2 separate regions of the Homo sapiens genome follow, and region 2 is linked to region 1. The links are contacts of gene promoters, found by promoter capture Hi-C in blood cells and fetal thymus (Javierre and others, 2016). All regions are on one chromosome and are shown on one strand. The core of a region is centred on a gene start or on the middle of the fragment in contact, and the rest is flanking DNA. Distances in the headings are between cores, read along the strand shown.

Region 1 (2,874 bases), core at 239-2,738:
GTGTGTGTGTGTGTGTGTGCATAATATTCCTAAGGTAAAGGGCCTTAGGAGATAAAGGTAAATACATATATATATAAATATATATATTTCTAAATATGTTATTGTATATATTATATATATATTTATACATACTATTAAATACAAACATATATGAAGAATATATATTATATATTCATAAATATGTAAATATATATATTCCTATATTACCTATATATAAGGTTCTCTATCTACCCATCTATATATGTATAATATATATATATATTCCTAAGGTCCTTTGGCAGAATATATATATTCCCCCAAACCTGTGTGTGTGTGAGTGTATATATATATATACATATACATCAAAAGAAAATTATGGGCCTAGAAGAATTAAAATCACCCAAGGTCAGACATAATGTGTGTGTATGTGTGCGTGTGTGTGTGTATATATATATATATATATATATATACACACACACACGCACACATACACACACATACATACACACACATATATGTGTGTGTATGTGTGTATATTTATATATAGTGTGCATATTTATATATAGTGTGTATATTTATATATAGTGTGTATATACGTGTGTGTGTATACTATATATAGTATATATATGTATATATATAATATATATTATATATATATATATATATTATATATATATAGCAAGGACACTGGGTCCTTTACCTTAGGTTGGCAAGTAAACCTTAGAAATAGAGGAGATGACTCAATGTGATTGTTAAAGCCAGAGAGACAGGAAGGAAAAGTCAGAAGGAAAATCAGCCCCTCAGAGCAGAGAGCGGAGGGACCTGAACCTTTTAGTATAGCTGATCTCTGTAGCCAATTTCCCCTAAAGGCCCTGAAACTGAGTTTTGGAGTGTTGTTTCTCAAGAAAAAGAAGCATCGATAATTCATGACTTAGATGTCCACCTTAAAACAATTCTGCTTTCCCCAGTAGAACATCTAGAAAATGGGTCATGATTCATTGTATGGAAGGTGGCAAGGAATATATCCTAATAGTATTTGTTTTCATGCCACTGGTCACCTGTTTCACATTCAAACCTTCATTGCTCACTTGATCTATAACAAACATGCCATGAGATTAAAGCACAGCTTTCTCCTCCTGAGTCACCAAAAGAAAATTACGGGCCTAGAAGAATTAAAATCACCCAAGGTCAGACATAATGTATTAAGGAAAATGAGGCTGCAGCACATGGTACCTGCAGGCAGATGTCACATGGCAGCTCAAGGAGGAAGCTGCAGCAAGAGGCACACAAGAGGTTGTTCAAGAAGAGCTGACCTGAAGAATCCTAACACACCAGGGGAAGGAAATAATGCTTTTCTCCATGTTGACAAATTTAAGCAGAAAAACAAACTTGCCTAATTTGATAATTGCCTGCTCATCAGAACAAACAATGACAAGGAAAGAGTGCTGCATCCGATGACATCAGCCCTGAGCAGGGTATAAAAGAGGATCTGGGGCAAGGAGACTTCCAAGCCTTCCAAACCCTCCTTCCTGGAAACCCACCCAGAACCTCCACCCTCTGACACCATGGTCAACTCCTGTTGTGGCTCTGTGTGCTCTGACCAGGGCTGTGGCCTAGAGAACTGCTGCCGTCCCAGCTACTGCCAGACCACCTGCTGCAGGACCACCTGCTGCCGCCCCAGCTGCTGTGTGTCCAGCTGCTGCAGACCCCAGTGCTGCCAGACCACCTGCTGCAGGACCACCTGCTGCCACCCCAGCTGCTGTGTGTCCAGCTGCTGCAGACCCCAGTGCTGCCAGTCTGTGTGCTGCCAGCCCACCTGCTGCAGACCCCAATGCTGCCAGACTACCTGCTGTAGGACCACCTGCTGCCGCCCCAGCTGCTGCAGGCCCCAGTGCTGCCAGTCTGTGTGCTGCCAGCCCACCTGCTGCTGCCCCAGCTACTGTGTGTCCAGCTGCTGCAGACCCCAGTGCTGCCAGACCACCTGCTGCAGAACCACCTGCTGCCGCCCCAGCTGCTGTGTGTCCAGGTGCTACAGGCCCCATTGTGGCCAGTCTCTATGCTGCTAGCCCATCTGCTGGCAAACCACCTGCTACAGGACCACCTGCTGCCACCCCAGCTATTGCATTTCCAGCTGCTGCCAGCCTTCCTGCAGTATCTCTAGCAGCAGTAGCTCCTCCTGCTGTGGCTTCAGCTGCTGCAGGCTCTCCTGCTGCATCTCCAGTTGCTGCCGCCCCAACTGCTGCCAGACCATGTGCTGCCGCCCAACCTGCTCTAGTGCTTCTTGCTGCTGAGGCTGTCATCTGGACTCACCAGATTCTCATCAACCAGCATTCTTGATGTAGCTCATCTATGAGCTGAGTTATGGGAAGCTAGTTGGAAAACTTCAGTTCCAACCAATTCTTAGATTGAATCTGGCCTCCAAATATATGCTCCCCCCACATTTTACCTCTCTACCAAATGAACATAAGTTGTAATTTGCTCTGAAATCTGTCAACTATCTTAATTGAAATATTTGCTCTCTGCCATAATTTCTCATATGGAGCTATTCCATTTTAAACAAATATTTATCTAAATAAATCTTAAATAAATTTTCAGGCATAGAAATATACAGATACTGTGTCTCATTATTTTTCTTTTTTGAGTGTGGTCAATTACCAGTCAATTTTTCTGTTGTTCTTCTCTGCAGAATGTAATTTCAGGGGCACCACCTCTATTTCCTCAGCACACTTTATTCTAATATACAATGGTGGTTTCTTAGAGCAAGCACCTGGAACTCTCTTCTTGAAGAGTTTCTCTAGCCAAGGAGCAAGCTCTGGACTGTAGAGTTAAAGCCTCTTGGAATAGTATTCAACAAATGAGTGAGAGTTGGTGAACACATGCTTTAGTTATTTCTCC
Region 2 (2,700 bases), core at 88-2,587, 240 kb before region 1:
CTCCCCAGTAAGCTCCACTGGTAAGTCCTGGCAGCTGTCTGGCTTGGAATTTGTAGACAGTAGAACATGAATCAGAAGCCCCAGAACAGGTAACTTAAATTGAGCTTTTAGGATGACATGCCCATTATGAACAAGGCACTGGCTGGGGCTTCGCCGACATTGTGTCACAGGGCACCACATCAGCCCTGCAAAGAAGAAGCAGCTGTTATTATTCTCAGTTGGTTACTGAGTCAAGACTTGAAACCTAGTCTCTTTGAACCAGATCCAAAGCCCGTTCTTTGGAAGCTTTGAGGGGGAAACAAATTAAACATGAGAAGGTTTAGGACAGTGGTTCTTAAAGCGTGGTCCGCCAGCAGGTAGCACTGGCATTACCTGAGAACTTGCTAGACATGCACATTCTTGAGCACCACCCCTGACTTACTGAACCAGCATTCTGCTTTAGCATGACTTGCAGGTGATTCTGATGTTGGTTCAAGTTTGAGAAACACTGGGTTAGGAAGTTTATTTGAGGAATGAGCCCTTGACTAGCTAGACCCTCTACAGAAAGGGCTGGCCTTGCCGTCCTGATATGTCCTCCAGTGAGGAATCCCTCATACCATCAGATCAGGATAGAGCCTTTCTCTTTTACATTGCAAAACTCTGAAAATGTTACATGATAGTTATTTCTATCAGTCTAGAAAGGCCCAAACAAGCTGACCCATCCAACCTCCCCAGTAACCCCCATTGGTGAGTCCTTATGGCAACTGTCTGTCTTGGAATTTGCAGATGGTAGAACATGAATCAAAAGCTCCATATTTTGATAGCCGTGGCTGAGAATCAGCACATCTCCAGAATTCAGCATCACAGCTGGCCAGAGAAGAGAAGCAGTGAGTTCCCTATCCTTGGAGACAAGCAGAGGCTTCAGAATCACTGATGGGGATGTTGAGGGGAACACTTAGGGAACTGATGGGGCTGGTTGAGATGGCTGTAGCCCCCCTAACTCTGTGCGTCCCTGCTTTCTATGTCTTATTGATCAGTGAAACCACAGGCATTGAAGTGGAACCACCAAATCTACTTTAGGAGCTGGTTTTGGTCTTCCCTTTCCCTCTGTGAATTCTCTGAATCACTGTAGTTTGCTGAAAAATTTACAAGTACAGCTGGTTCTGGTTTAATCCAGGTCTTCCTGATACAGCGGTGTGGTGCTGGAGTGACCACAGTCCCGAGCCCCAAGGCTGGAGGGAGCTTAAGTGAGAATCTTGTTGCTCTGCCTCCAACTGCTCTCAAGCCCAGCGTCCTACTTGTTGGTCACTGCTCATGTACATAGGACTGATCTGCTTGAGAGACACTGGGATTTCCAGCATAGGAAGCCCAAGAAGGGTCAGAGGCTGCCACGCCCTCCCCTCCTCTGTTCTTTTTCTCAAGTGGTAAAACTGTTTTGGCACACGTGACACACCCCTTGGGCACCTACCCAAGAGAAGCTCTCAATAATGAAGAGCCATCTCGATTAGTCTTAATTTAGTACCTGACCCAGCTGCCCTCATCTCCTTTGTACTTAAATAGCTCCTTTCATCCAACAAGTTCAAAGCTGTCTAACAAAATAAACCCACTTATTCTTGCACCATGACGGCACAGGCAAGCATTGTCCTTCCCATTTAAGGGAGAGAGAGAGAAGGTGAGTCATTCAGTGGTTAAGGGATTCTGCTGGTGACATAAAGTGAGTCAGTGGGGCCCCAGGGTGATTGACCTGTGTTTCTTAAGTTCACATCCAGTGCTCTCTCATTTCTAATTAAAAGATTAGCTTTGATGAGACAGTACATGTGTGTGTGTGCACGCACATCTGTGTGTTTGTCGTGTGTGAAGAGTTTCCCTGGAAACCACAGAGGTCATCATTACCATCACCATCACCAGAATCATCATCATCATCATCATCAAATCATATAGCTTCACCATCATCATCATTGTCATAGAACCATATATCCATCAAGCTCTTACTATGAGCCAGGCGCTGGTCTAAATTATAGCTACAGTCATATGGGTAAACTCATTTAATCATTACAACAATCCTAGAAAGCCAATGCTATGGTTTTCTCATTTTGCAGACAAGTAGCCAAGACTCAGAGAGGCTAAGTAACATGCCCAAGGTCACACAGCTATTAGGTGGTGAAGCCAGGATTCAGATCCAAGCAGCCTGCCTCCAGCAACTGTGCTCTTAACTACTGTGCTTTACAGAGGCCAAGTCTCAGATTTTGTCAAAAGGATGATAGAATCATAATGACCCCATTGTTTTGATTCCTTTCCTTGAAGGAAATGAGTATGTTTATGTTAGAAGAAACGTTTCTGAGAATTTATGCCACAAAGGGTGGTACAAGGAATAAAAGTCCTTTAGTATCTCACAGGATCTTGAAGCTTGAGGACTCTGGCAATTTTAATAAACTAGGAGTTGACAAAGAAGCTCAACTCACTTCCTGCCATTTTAAAACCACCTTGTCTATTGAGAAAGAGGAGGAGGGAAACAGAATCCCTATAGATGTTCATTGTTTCACCATTTACAAAACACTTGTTAAAGTACTTTGTGTTGTATCCAAATGGAGGCCCCAAACAACCTTGAGAGAGGGGAACAGACATCACAATCCCCATCGTGCAGTGGGAGAAGTACAGGTGTAGGGAGGTGAAATGCCCCCTCTGCACCTCACAGCAGGTGAGGGGCAGCTCCACGCACTC

Evidence for each region. Contacts are between HindIII fragments. The CHiCAGO score rates a contact against its expected background, and 5 or more counts as called.
Region 2: a fragment that was not itself captured here is called in contact with the fragment with the promoter of KRTAP4-4 in region 1 in 2 of 17 cell types (total CD8 T cells and naive CD8 T cells); the score reaches 6.0 in total CD8 T cells.

The regions. Positions count from the first base shown.
Region 1 is chr17:41,159,362-41,162,235 of GRCh38, reverse strand. It overlaps KRTAP4-4 (keratin associated protein 4-4), which reads left to right and starts at 1,488. Exons shown (of 1, transcript NM_032524.2): 1 at 1,488-2,587. The coding sequence starts at 1,545. The coding sequence ends at 2,045. The HindIII fragment of the contact is 13,067 bases long and covers 1-2,874 here.
Region 2 is chr17:41,403,089-41,405,788 of GRCh38, reverse strand. The region is part of intron 1 of LOC100505782 (a long non-coding RNA gene); the gene reads right to left. Among named protein-coding and RNA genes, the nearest start is that of KRT31, 6.8 kb to the right of the region's middle. RefSeq lists an enhancer at 900-2,099. The HindIII fragment of the contact is 2,100 bases long and covers 288-2,387 here.